Linked DNA regions of Homo sapiens: region 2 is linked to region 1. The links are contacts of gene promoters, found by promoter capture Hi-C in blood cells and fetal thymus (Javierre and others, 2016). All regions are on one chromosome and are shown on one strand. The core of a region is centred on a gene start or on the middle of the fragment in contact, and the rest is flanking DNA. Distances in the headings are between cores, read along the strand shown. Region 1 holds the start of METAP2 (methionyl aminopeptidase 2). Region 2 holds the start of NUDT4 (nudix hydrolase 4).

The links. The method cuts DNA at HindIII sites, captures the fragments that hold promoters and counts their contacts. A CHiCAGO score of 5 or more calls a contact.
Region 2: the fragment with the promoter of NUDT4 here is called in contact with the fragment with the promoter of METAP2 in region 1 in 2 of 17 cell types (non-activated CD4 T cells and total CD8 T cells); the score reaches 8.6 in non-activated CD4 T cells.

What each region holds. Positions count from the first base shown.
Region 1 is chr12:95,469,518-95,476,625 of GRCh38, reverse strand. It overlaps METAP2 (methionyl aminopeptidase 2), which reads right to left and starts at 2,474. Exons shown (of 11, transcript NM_006838.4): 1 at 2,296-2,474; 2 at 448-555. The coding sequence starts at 2,446. RefSeq lists an enhancer at 2,258-2,657. The HindIII fragment of the contact is 1,745 bases long and covers 1,677-3,421 here.
Region 2 is chr12:93,373,979-93,381,086 of GRCh38, reverse strand. NUDT4 (nudix hydrolase 4) reads right to left here and starts at 3,162. Exons shown (of 5, transcript NM_019094.6): 1 at 2,666-3,162. The coding sequence starts at 2,764. LOC643339 (a long non-coding RNA gene) reads left to right here and starts at 3,351. Exons shown (of 5, transcript NR_040096.1): 1 at 3,351-3,650. RefSeq lists silencers at 2,531-2,830, 3,051-3,390 and an enhancer at 2,627-3,566. The HindIII fragment of the contact is 6,665 bases long and covers 754-7,108 here.

The sequences.
Region 1 (7,108 bases), core at 1,225-3,724:
TTAATTGAGGTAACAAGTGAAATGTCAGAGAAAACACTATACGAGTAAATAAATTTTGATTAAGGAATATCACATTTTCTAGCTTTTCTTTCTTTCTTTCTTTCTTTCTTTTTTTTGAGACAGTCTTACTCTGCTGGCCAGGCTGGAGTGCAGTGGTGCAATCTCAGCTCACTGCAACCTCCATCTCTCGGGCTCAAGCAATTCTCCTGCCTCAGCTTCCCAAGTTGTTGGGATTACAGGTGTGTGCTACCACACCCGGCTAAATTTTTTTTTGTCTTTTTAGAAGAGATGGGGTTTCAACATGTTGGCCAGGCTGGTCTCGAACTACTGACCTTATGTAATCCACCCGCCTCGACCTCCCAAAGTGCTGGGATTACAGGTGTGTGCCACCACACCCGGCTACATTTTCTAGCTTTTCTAACCACAAAGATCAAATTAACCATTTACCTTCATCATCTTCATCTCTTTCTTTATCTTCCAATGCTGATCTTTCCAACTGTCTTGCTACTTCATCCACTGAGGCTCCTGATTCTTTATCAGGTTCCTGTTCCCCTGCTGATCAAAATAAAATAGCAGAAATCAAATCTAATACAGACACTTTCCCACTAGAATATGCTCTAATGATCTTGGAAAACTTACAAATCCTTTCCTCAGGAAACAAAAACAGAAACATTATTGTGAACATAACAGAATTCGTTTAATGACAGAAAAATCTTCCATACCTACACAGTATTGTCCATTCATTAATTTACTCAACAAAATATCCATTACACACACTAGCAGCTAAAAGATAAACAGCGTGAACTGGTCTCTATCCTCAAGTAGTTTAACTTGTAATAGTGGTCAGCAATTAGACTTAACAAATACTTAAACACCAGATAGGTAATAAATGCTGAAGGCCTTAGGAAAAAGATTCATGTGCAACACCCCGGGGCAGCCTGGTTTCATGAATAAGGATATCACGATGGGCTGGGTAAAGTCAAAATAAATAGGCAAAGACAGTCCATTACTAAAAAACTAAAACGCTCAAATATCTAAGCACAAGACCAGGCCCCTGCTCTGGAAGTGATTATAACCTACCTATAAGAGCAATATGTTACATGCATTAATAGTATCAGGTAGCACGAAATGAAGTGACATTCTGGCTACTGGAGAGAATTCATATTAAGAAATACAACTGTTAAAAATACATTAGGATCAGTCAGCTTAACACCTTACAAGACAAACAGCAGTGTTTGAATTTCACTCGAAATCCAGGAACAGCCACCAGAGTAACAAATTTTGCTCTGGAAGAGTTCCAGCAACGCTACAACTCTCCTTCCATTCCTATCTAATCAAAATTTCAGAAAGATGAAGATTAGCTCTCTTCGACCTCTCTCAATTCCATCTTAATCGCTTCTGACTTCTCCATTTTCTGTTTCTCTGGCGATTTTAATTAGAAACAAGTAAAAATAATTTTTATTAAGGTGAAGGAGCTTGTGCAGCAAAAACACAGACTTCTCAAAATATGTAAGTTCCTAGTTCATAATATCCAACTGTAAACTCTCAGCAGTTCTCCTTGCCTTACCAGTGGATTTAGAGGTTAAGACCTCAGAAGTTCCATTCTGAGCCACAGAATATCCTATCTGCACTGCCTGCAATTGGTATCATAATTCAGGTCTAAAGGCCCTAAAGCTTGGCGATGCTATGGGATTAGGCAGGTGAAAATTCGTTATCACCACCACAAATTCTGCAATTAATGACATGAGCGCGCGGGCAAACACACATGTACACACACCCCAAAAGTGCAGGCTGCAACAACCCCAACGTGAAACGGGATAGTGGGAGGAGGTGTGCTCTCCATTACATTTGCCCACCCCCAAAGAAAATAAGTCCTAGCTTGCTCCAGCAAACCAGCAAAGACGCGGCAATACGGATCAGAATCGGATTTTTGAGGCGGCGGCCAAATCGCGCGAAAGATGGTAGGGCTGTGCTCTGCGCACAATCTCAAGACCGTGCCACGATGTGCGTGGGAGCTGAGTTCTGGTAATACAGGGGCTCGGGCCCAGCGACCCCAGAGGTACCACACGCCAACCTCAGGCACTCTTTTCTCCCCCACCAGCCCTCTAGTCCCACAGGAGGAGATGACGCCTCTTCTCAGACTAGGAATCTATAGCCCGGCTTTGCCACCCTGTCAGGCCCAAGAATCAGTCTAGTCGGGGCTCTGGGGCCCCGGTCCCGGCCCCCTCAACGGGCCTGAGCCAAACAGTTCAGCCGTTCCCGGAGGGGACTGGGAAAACATAAAACTCTCTTTACCTGCAGAAGGCCCTTTGCTCTTCTTCTTCTTTCGTCTTTTTTTCTTGGCTGCTTCCTCAGCCGTAGAGGCAGCTCCTTCTTCCCTGTCGTCTGGATCCAGGTCGCCATTCAGGTGGCTCCCGGAGGCCGCTACCTCCTCCACACCCGCCATGTTGCCCGAGAGAGCGCGAGGGAATGAGACAGAGCGGCGAGGGCCCCGATCCTTCTCCACCCGCCTACACCAGCCACGCCGGAAGCTGCTCTCGATGGTAGGGACGCAGGGAATGCTGGGACGGCGGAGGACTCAGCTGAGGGTGTCGGGCTAGCTTCGGGCCGGGCGTGCAGGAGTCTCGGCTTGGAGCCCCGCCTGGCTGGAGTCGACTGGGGCCAGACCCGACTGCTTCGTCCGGTGCCTCGGGCATTCCCGAAGCAAATCGGCAAGCGCAGGGTGAAGTTTAAAGGGGAAGTTGAGCTCTAGAGTCAGCCGGAGATACCTGTGGAGACGGGCAACCCGCCGTAGCAAGCGGCGTCTCTGCTGGAACGGAAATATTTTATATTTGCGTTTTTATAAATCACACAGGCAGTGGGGAAACGGGCTAAGAAATGTGTTCACTTGTACACATTTCTATTGTCATGACTCCACATATCTCTTAAATCTAAGAGATTTAATCAAATCTGCGTTGACATTCACAATCACAGCTCTCCGCGAGGCTCTGTAGGCACTGGAGAGAATTTTGGAAGCTGGAGTTCCGTGTTAGTTTATTGTACTACTCAACCCCGGACGGTTCAAGATGGGAACCCGTCACACTCCGCTCACTTTCCAATTCAGGACAAGAATGACAGGTTTTAACACACGGGGACACGGTCTCTCTCATTAATGCAAAAGATCACACTCCGTTTTCTCTATTTCTGGTCACCTTTCTTTTGGATTTAGGACGTTTCACCAGAAACTAATTGAATTTTGCCCATTTCTTTACTTCTTATGTTTTGAGCCTCATGTTCAAACCGCAGTTTGAGATTTAGTTTGTGGCGTAAGTGGATTGTGATTGGCTGCCTGCACCAACTCCTTCTCAATTTCTCCTGAATATGGCTTTGTCCACCTGGAGAGTTTAGGTGTTTTCATTAGTTTTAAACTAGGCACCAAGCTTCATGGGCATCAAAATGTCGTTAAGAGCCTTATTGCCAGTGAGTTTACAGTAAACCTCACACAGGCTCTGACTGCAGCTGCATAAATGTACATTCTCTGTCTTAAAGCTTCAGGCAGCACCTATCCAATAGTAATAAAAACTGTTCCTCTTATTCTTGTACAGATCTTTATCTCTTTAAATCTATCCCTATTTAGATTTTAAATTGTTTTCCCTAGTTGATTGCTGGCAATATAAAAGTTGGTAAACCGGCCGGGCGCTGTGGCTCACGCCTGTAATCCCAGCACTTTGGGAGGGCGAGGTGGGCAGATCACAAGGTCAGGAGTTCGAGACCAGCCTGGCCAATATGGTGAAACCCCGTCTCCACTAAAAATACAAAAATTAGCCGGGCGTGGTGGCAGGCGCCTGTAGTCCCAGCTACTAGGGAGGCTGAGGCAGGACAATCGCTTGAACCCCGGGGGAGGTTGCAGTGAGCTGAGATTGCGCCACTGCACTCCAGCCTGGGCGACAGAGCGAGACTCCATCCCCCCCAAAAAAGTAAATAAAATAAAAAATAAAAAGTTGGTAAACCAAACATAATACCACAAAAATAAAAATAGAAGTAGCTTCCATGTGTCCAAAATCCTTTAAAATGCCCGGCAAGACCCAGCCATATCTACTTCTCCAATGTCTCCACTCTCTTACTATTATAGCTCCAGCTCTCAAAGCTCTTTCTGACCTTGGAGCATTTCAAACTCACTGTTACTTTTATCTGGGCTGCTCTTTGCTTGGCTGACATATTCACTTATTCACTCATCCATCCATTCGTTCAATGCCTACTATAAACCTAGATCTGGCAATATTTAGAGAGCAAAAACAGAGATGATCCTTGTCATCATAGAGCCAGTTAACAAAAATAGACATCAAGCAATGATGCTAATAAAAGCAAATTTACAACTGCTGCTATGAGAGCATATTACAAAGGGACTTGCCTAGGTAGGATGGCCTGGTAGAGTTTCCTGAGGAAGTAGCAATTAGGCTGAGATCTGAAGGATAAATAGGCAAAGGGGAGGGGAAAGGTTTAGAGAGAGTATTTTTTTTTTTTTGAGACGGAGTCTCGTTCTATCACCCAGGTTGGAGTGCAGTGGCCTGATCTTAGCTCACTGCAACCTCCGCCTCCCAGGTTCAAGCGATTCTCCTACCTCAGCCTCCCAAGTAGCTGGGATTACAGGCGCCCACCACCACACCCAGCTAATTTTTGTAGAGACGGGGTTTTACCATGTTGGCCAGGCTGGTCTCAAACTCCTGACCTCAGGTGATCCACCTGCCTCAACCTCCCAAAGTGTTGGGATTACAGGCATGAGCCATTGCGCCTGGCAGAGTATTCTTGGCAAAGGGAAGGTAAAGAAAAATTTAAGAGGTATTTAAGAGGAGACATGGATTCTAATACTAGAATGGTCATTTGGCTATAATTTTGTGACTCTGGACAGCCCATATATTTTTGAGCCTTGATTTTCTCATCTGTAAAACAGTAGGGAGTATAACACATTTAAAGAACTAAAAAACATCCAGAATGGCTGGAATGCAAAGAGGTGGAGAAGGGAGTGAGTGTGATGAGATGAGACTAGAAAGGTAAGAGCCTTGCAGGAAGGAAAGGGTAGGAGAGCTGACAGAGCCTTTTAGATCATACTAAGGGCTTTATACTTTGTCCTAAGAACAATATAAAACTCTTAAGTATTTTATTTTACTTTTTTTATTTATTTTTCAGACAGGGTCTCATTCTGTTGCTCAGGCTGGAATGCAGTGGCGTGATGTCAGCTCACTGCAACCTCTACCTCCTGGGTTCAAGCAATTATCCCACCTCAGTCTCCCAAGTAGCTGGGACTACAGGCACATGCCACCACACCCAGCTAATTTTTGTATATTTTGGTAGAGACAGGGTTTCACCATGTTGGTCAGGCTGGTCTCAAACTCCTGACTTCAGGTGATCCACCTACCTCCCTTAAGTATTTTATTTTTATTTTTTATTTTTTTCTGAGATGGAGTCTTGCTCTGTCGCCCAGGCTGGAGTGCAGTGGTATGATCTCGGCTCACTGCAACCTCCGCCTCCCGGATTCAAGCAATTCTTCCACCTCAGCCTCCCGAGTAGCTGGGACTACAGGTACGCGCCACCACACCCAGTTAATTTTTGTATTTTTAGTAGAGACGGGGTTTCACCATGTTGGCCAGGCTGGTCTCAAACTCCTGGCCTCAGGTGATCCGCCCTCCTCAGCCTCCCAAAGTGCTGGGATTATAGGCATGAGCCACTGTGTCCAGCCCCCTTAAGTATTTTAATGGTGAGGAGACAGTTAACCTGATGAGAGTTGCAATTAACATGATTAGATTTTTGAAAAGATCACCATGGCTGCAGTGTACAGAGTAGAGTTGAGGGTGGCCAGAATGAAAGCAGGGAGATCAGTTTAGAGGCTATTACAGTCAATAGGTTATAGTGGCTTGAAAGGGAATGATGATGGGTATGACCAAAAAAATGAATAGATTTAAGAGATATGTGGGAGATAAAATGGGCAAGACTTGGTGATGAATTGTATAAGGGATTTGAGAGAGAAGAAGATATCAAGGAATCCCCTTCGGTGTGTGCTGGTGAAACTGGATTGACTGGTAATGTAATGTAAATAACAGAGATAGAAAAACATTTCAGATTTGAAAGGGAAGATTATGAGTTAGATGTGAGACATGCTGAGTCTGAGGTGTCTTGGGGCATTAAAGTGGAGCTGTGAAGAAGGTGGATAACTATAAGGAACTGGAGATCAAAAGAATAGTTGGAGCAGATATAAAAATTTGAGTCATCAACTAATAGATGGGAATTGGAACTTTGACACAGATAAGATCATCCAGCAAGTGGATCTAGACATGAGAGTCTACCTGTACTGCACAGCATGGTGGCCACCTACCACGTTGCCACTGAGCACTTAAAATGCTGCTAGTTCAGGCCGGGCGCGGTGGCTCACGCCTGTAATCCCAGCACTTTGGGAGGCCGAGGCAGGCGGATCATGAGGTCAGGAGATCGAGACCATCCCGGCTAACAAGGTGAAACCCTGTCTCTACTAAAAATACAAAAAATTAGCCAGGCGTGGTGGTGTGCACCTGTAGTCCCAGCTACTCGGGAGGCTGAGGCAGGAGAATGGCGTGAACCCAGGAGATGGAGCTTGCAGTGAGCGGAAATGGTGCCACTGCACTCCAGCCTGGGCGACAGAGCAACACTCCATCTCAAAAAAAAAAAAAAAAATGCTGCTAGTCCAAATTGAGTTATGCCATAATTTAGAATACACACTGAATTACAAAAACTTAATACAAAAATACTAAAGTTTCTCAATAATGTTATATTTATTGTTGAAATGATAATTTTTATATAGAGTTAAATAAAAACATCATTAAGATTGATTGTTACCTGTTTCTTTTTACTTTTTAAAATGTGGCTACTAGAAAATTTAAAATTACGTGAGTGACTATTGGAAATGTAAATTGTCAACCTTAAAAAAAAGACACTAGAGGCTAGGCATGGTTTCTCACACCTGTAATCCCAGCACTCCAGGAAGATCACTTGAAGCCAGGAGTCAGAGACCAGCCTGGGTTACCAAGCAAGACCCCCTCTCTACAAGGAATTAAAAAATTATCTGGGCGTGGTGGCATGTGCCTGTAGTCCCAGCTAC
Region 2 (7,108 bases), core at 1,913-4,412, 2.1 Mb after region 1:
TGCTCTTAGAACAACCTTCTTTCCTAGAACAATCTGTTTTAAAGTAGAAACTTACTGAGAACTTCAGTACAGGAACAGCCAGATGGGAGCGCCACGTAGCTTTTTTGGGGTCAAATTGCAATTACTCTTTTACTTCCATTTGTACTCTATATAAACATTTCATCCTCAAACAAAACATACATTTAAATCTTCTAACCAGGATCTAGGTGTTTTTCATCCAGTAGAGGGAAACATTTCTCACCTATTAACTAGAGAGGTGGGCTCAAGCTGGTTTTCTAGACTGTCCTGGGAAGTCTGGCAATGCAATTTCAACAGAGTGAAGGCAAATTCATAGAGAAACAATAGAATCTCCAGGAAAGCTAACAGAGTTTATTCTGTAATAATCATGTAATAGATAAAGCCTCAACTACACACAATCACAGAAATGAAAATTCTGAAGAGCTAAACCAGATGTTAAAATTGGCTGTGCATTTCACTTAAGGAGAATTCTAGAGTCTTCCCTCAGATCATATCCTCTAACAAGATGACTCACTCTCTTCAATTCTCAACCTACAGGTTATCAGATTTACAAAGTTTTATACAATGGATTTTTCTAATACATTCTCCAAAACTTGCTCCCTACTTCACCTTACCTAATGACACGGGTCTCTTGACTCAACTAGAGGCTATGAATTTAGTATTTATTTCAGTAGAAATAATATCCAAGCATAAAAATAATCATTTATTTTTATTGCTAAAGTAATTCCTAAAGCTTCTATCAGTCTTTGCTTTACCATAAGCACAATAGAGATCATCATTTCAATTTCCATCACTCATATTTTCCCCTAGAGTCTAGTATTTTTACAAAGCCTGAATTCCAAGTTCACATTATGGCAACACTTCAGTCACCACTTTCAGATAGGCTTCCAAACTTAGCCTCACAAAAATCTCACTCACTCAACAAACAGAGCCCAACATCAGGAGTAAGGACTGGACCCTGAATCCTGACTCTACCACTTCCTAATTGTGTCATTTGGGAAGGTACTTATGCTCTGCAACTGTCTCCTCACCTATAAAATGGGAGTAACTTCACTACCTCCCAGTGTTAAAAGGATTAAATGTATAACAAGTTTTCTTCTGGCAGCGCCTGGCACATTGTAAGCACTCAATTAAGAATATCATTACACAATATTGAGGAAACCAGACAAGATCCTTGATCTATCTTGATCCCTTTTGGCTATCATTTCTTTTATATTTAAAGTTTACTACTTTGCCTCAACATGGCCCCTTTCCGCTAAGGCTTTATCTTTTTTACAGAACACACTTAATGCTTGTTGACTTGTTCATTTTGTAAAAGTTAATAACCTTTCCCTTTGCAGTTTCTAGCTCTCCTAAGCAGACCCATCTCAAAGGCTGGGGCCGTATTTCTCTGCACACTCGTTTGGGATTCAAGTCTAATACGTAAAGGTTATGAGTGAGCACAGAGCAACCCATTTAAAGGGCTTGGTTTCTTTTCAAAAAAAAATAAAGGCAAAACAAGGGTTTGAAGGGCAAATTTCGAGAACTTTTCGTTAACATAACAAGAACTAAGCCACTGAGTGTATTCTGTGTCATATTCATCACAACTACAGGGACTAGCAGTAAGGAAGCCATTAAATTCCCATCTCCAGCCTTAGCCTAGTATTTTATACACGGTTGGTTATGAAAGCAGAACTCAGAATGTTAATTTTTTTCACCTATGTAATTTATCTTAAGAGTGGCAATACCAAAAGGCTACTATTGCCCTAAGCAAACTTCAACAGTTAGCCATTTTAAATAAATACTACTGAATTAAGTAAAAATCGCTCTCCAGGGAAACCCCAAGGGTCTCATTCTCAGCCCAATGCAGATGGGTAAATTATCCAAGAACGACTGCTCTGAGAACGAGAAAGGCTACTCCTTTCCAGATGTCAAGCCAGACAGCAAAGAACCCTTTATACATAAGCTGAGAGCTGGAGATTACTGTCTGAAAATGGCAGCTTTGCCCATCTCTAGTCCATCGTCTCCCTTTTGGCATTATTCCACATTTTTCACTAACCATTTTTCTGCAGTCAGAAAACTTTAAGAAGGGAAGGCCGTTTTAAAAATGAGGCATAATTATGCCAACAGCTTGCGGGTTCATGGACCCACAAGAATTGCCAAGACTAGACTCAATTCCAAGCACGAGGACTGTCTGTTACTCCACAAACATGCTTAGATCGAATCCGAGACCGCAAACGGCTGTAACATGGAAGGAAAATATGTAAAAGAGGCACAAGGGCTCTGCTGCAACACTCACGCCATTTCCACCCTCCTCTCGCTGAGCACTCGAGGTTTATCCGGCTTTCAACTCAATTCGCACGTTAAGATGGTGACTCCCGCTAGGCGAGACTTACGCGGCCCGGGACCTTCCCGGGGACCAGGCGCCTTCTCGAGTGCCCAGATGGAGAAACTGGGGCTGGGCGAGCCCCCTTTGTCTCATCTATCAGCCCAGAGAAAGGAAGGAAGAAGTGAGGGAGGAAAGGAGTGAGGGAGGAAAGGAGGGAGGGAGGAAGGGGGCTAATCCCTCCCAGCCCCGCAGCCTGCGCAGGGGCGGGGAGCGAGGGGAAGCACCCGGGCCCTAGACCCCGGCGCCCCGGAGGGCAGCGTGCGGCGCCGGGCGCCCTACCTCGTCCTCCTGCTCGCTCCGGAAGCACAGGCACGCCGCCCGCTTCTTGAAGCCCTCGCGGTCGTAGGTCCGCGTCTGGTTGGGCTTGAACTTCATCATAGAGGCGGGCTCCTGCTGCTGCTGCTGCTGCTCCGGCCGCCGCCGTGGGGGCCCGGCCGCCGCCACCCCGCCGGGGAGTGGGGGCGAGGGCGAGTCGGGCGCAGGAGCGCCCGGGAGCGCTAGTCGGTGCGGGAGGTGCGGCGAGGCCGGTCAGTCCCGGGGCCGGCGGCCGCTCCGACGCGGGCGGGACGGGACGCTAGCGCGGGTCACTGGAACCAGGGTGCCGAGATGAAAGCTCCGCCTCTGCCCAGTTGTCCGCCGCTCTCCATGGAGCCCGACTCCCGCTCGCCTCCGCTCCCTCCGGCCGTAGCCGCCAGGGGAAGGGCGGCTAGAGGCGCGCGCCACGCGGAGACAGTTGCGAAGACCCGCTCCCACTGAGCAGCAGCACCGCGGCGACCGCGCGCCGCCCCCTCTGCTCTGTTTAAATGAAGCCCACATGCGCCCCGCCTCCCCCGCGCGCCACTGCGCCTGCGTGCAGAGACCATTGCAATGGGGTGGGTGGGTAGGTGTGGCGGGGGAGGTAGGGGCGGGACCTCGGCCGCCCGGTGGGCGGGGCCGCGCGCACTCCCGGGCTGGAGTTCGGCGAGGCCTTGGGACTGGCGCTGGAGCCCAGCGTGGGATGACCGTGCCCCGAAAACATGCCAGTGAATGGAAAGAAGCCAAGGTCCCCTCCCTCCCTGCTTATACCCTCAACTTTGCCAATGAGGACCCTAAATACCAGCTGCACTACAGGGGATGTAACTACATACACCGTCACCAAAGTTGCAGCCTGGCCAAGAAATGCCAGGGGACGTCGCGGCGATTGCAGACTCCGCGGTGACTGTGTAGATACGTCCAGAATTCGCCCTTGTAGCGCGGGGAGAGGCGAGAGTGAAGGCCTAGAAAAGTTAAGACGTTAACTGTTTTTTTTTTCTTTGTTTTCACAAATGGGGGGTAGGCAAATTTCCTTTTTTTTTTTTTGTATTTAAATTTTTAATCTTTGGTTGGGGATGGCTTGTATTATTTAAAGAGTCAACTCTAGCTTAAACGTTTCTTTGAAGCTGTCTATAACATCCCCCACTTTGTGCCACCTTCCGGAAAGTATTAATACTGGCAATGGCTAATAGTTGCGAAATGGTTTTCATGTGGATCTCATGCTAAGTAACAGCGCAGCTGGATGCTGGGGCCACAGCACTAAAATATAATGGGATTTCTGCTATCTGGGAGCTTACAGTACCTTGGGGACTTGGAACAAACAACCTCTACACTTCAGAGTGTTAGAAGGGCTAAGATAGGAGCCAGGAGGCCTGATCTTAAGGTAGCTCGAGAAACCCAAACTCAGGCCATTCTGCCCTTCCACAGAGGCCCAGGTTGCTTGGGTCCTGACTTGGTTGGTTGGTTTTTCACCCCTTGAGGGCCTATTGTGTGTCAGGCACTGGCATCTAACAAAACCAGTCAGCCCCTGCCTCTCCAGGAGCGTAGGCACCTGAGAGCACACCGTCAAATATTAAATGATCACACGTGTACACGTAAAACTACAAATGTAATGGGCTCTAAGGTTTCAGACAAAGATTTGACCAGATCTGCAGTCAGAAAAAGATTATTGGGGCAGCAAGGCAGGAGCTGAGGGCTGAAGGAGGAGGAGCTAAATTGACCAAGAGCTTTCAAGGCAAAGGGAACTGGGATTTCTGCAGAGCCCAAAGTGGGAGGGAGTGAGGAGAGTTCTCAGAAATGAAAGAAAAGGCCAGTGTGGCTGCAGAGCGGAGGCAAGCTGGTTCCGCCTCTGGCAGAGGGGCCTGTGAGGCCTGACTGAGAGGCTGGGGACCACTGGAGAGCTCAGAGCAGGCACTGGTCTTTCTAGTCTCCAACCTCCTTTAGATTTGGGACTGCTGCATCTAACTCATCTTGTTACTCCCAGAGCCCAGCAGATGTAAGTTTGTAGAATGGGTTAGTGTTGAATAAATAATTTAAGGAATGAGGCTTCACCACAATTAGAAATCTTATCAAGACTGCGCAGAGATGTTTTCCAAGCCATTGATTTCTTATTGAAGGCACTTGAAATTTAACTATGTCCAGGATTTACAAACACAGGCAGAAAACATCTAGCTGGGGAGTCCGCTATGGCTAATATGTGATTATTATTTTTGGATAATTGGTTCACATCAATAAAGTTATTAATCCTGGCTTGGTTGCACAGGCTAGAGTGCAATGGTGCTGTTTCAGCTCACTGCAGCCTCCATTTCCCAGGCTCAAGGGATTCTCCGGCCTCAGCCTCCTGAGTACCTGTAACCACCACAGTTGCATGCCACCATGCCTGGTTAATTTGTGGATTTTTTTAGTAGAGGTGGAGTTTCACCATGTTGCCCAGGCTGGTCTCGAACTCCTGAGCTCAGGCGATCTGCCCACCTCAGCCTCCCAACGTGCTGGGATTACAGGCGTGAGCCACTGCACCCTCCTCACTATGGTCTTTTTTATTTTTTACTTTTATTTGTTTTATTGTGGCCTTTTAAATGACAAAGAGATTCCATTTCCTTTGTTTAAAACCCTTCAAAGTTCTGGTTTCTAGTTGTTGCTCAATAAATACTAGTTGGCTGAATATTTGTTCACTCAAGTCTTTCCCATTTATTAATTACATGAGGGAAGTCATGAATCAGAATTAACTGAGAAAAAAAAGGGAAGATGCTTAGAACCAAATCACGGAAGGGAGGAAAAACAGCAACACCAAGGCAGTGAGTGTGAGCTACTTGCTTCAGCTTCTTGGCCACTGGACTTAGTTTAAAAATCTTGGCTTCAGGTCTCACATGTACCAATTGCGCCCTCTCTCTCTCTCTCTCTCTCTCTCTCTCTCTCTCTCTCTCTATATATATATATATATATATATGAATGTTATATATATTAGTTATATATATATATAAAACTAATTACTACTATTTATATTTGCTTCACCTCTGAGCCTTGTCTTTTCTCACCTCTTAATTGAGTATAATATGATTTATGGTATCTTGCACAAGGCTTAACTAACATACCAGAGTGAGTCTGAAAGTGCTTTGAAACTGTAAAACATTTAGAGAAACATAAGATGTTATTAACAAGGAAATTTCCATTGGAGATCTCTCCTCCCTGTCTTCCTTTTCCTCAAAGCGTGGAAGAGTAATTGAGAGGGCTATGGATTTTAACACTGTGGAGGAAAGGATCTTAGATTCTGCAATGAATTAAACTGAAGAATGCTTTCATAATATAAATAACCACCTCTCTCCCATACTTATTTATTTGGTTGGTTTTTGCAATTATTGGGGAGAGATCTAACAGAAAAGAAAACTTGTCTGACTAAAATGAGAGAATAGGCTGGGCGTGGTGGCTCATGCCTGTAATCTCAGCAATTTGGGAGGCCGAGGCAGGTGGATCACCTCAGGTCAGGAGTTCGAGACCAGCCTGGCCAACATGGTGAAACCCCATCTCTACTAAAAATACAAAAATCAGCTGGGCGTGGGGGCGTGTGCCTGGAATCCCAGGTACTGAGGAGGCTGAAGCAGGAGAATCGCTCGAACCAGGAGCCGGAGGTTGCAGTGAGCCGAGATTGCACCACTGCACTCTAACCTGGGCCACAGAGAGAGACTCCGTCTCAAAATAAATAAATAAATAAATAAATAAATAGCAAAAGGCCAAATTACAATGCTAGGTGTTCATTTTCCTATGTCAGTTCCTCAGCATCAGGGTGCACTGCCCCAGCTCAGAGCTCCCTGCTTAGTATTTAACACATAATATGCATCTGAAACATGCTTAGGCACTTTTCAAAGTTTAGATCATATCTAGCCAGATCACGCTTGAGATAGACACAGGCTTGTTTTTCCTCCTCAGGTCCAGTAAGGACTGGGCTACACTGGCTGGTTCACTTGGGGATCAGAGTCCAATTTCAGATTAATCTTTGTTTAGTTCACTTACCACAATATTGTCTTACCCAGAACTTACTATATACAGAGTTATTTCTTATGCTATTTTCATCTATTTCTAACTTTCAGAAAAGGAAACAGTTTAACATTGGCTGAATAGGATACTTTTCTCCCCCAGGGTGTTTTAACAATGTAGCAGGGTAGCTTGGAGGAGGCAGGATCCTCAGCAATGCAGGTCACTTGTTACTTTCTCTTGTAACTGACTCAGAATGCTACCATACAGTAAGTTCCTTTTCAAGATTAAACTGTGACAATGACAAAAGTCTCTTCCTATATCTTCCTAATGATCATAATGGCTATTTTTTTATTGAGTGTTAGCCAGTGCTGGGTGCTTTGCATGATCTCATTTGACTGATCCCAGCATCAGCCTTATGAGGCAGCTATTTATTGTCCCCATTTACAGACTAAGAAACGG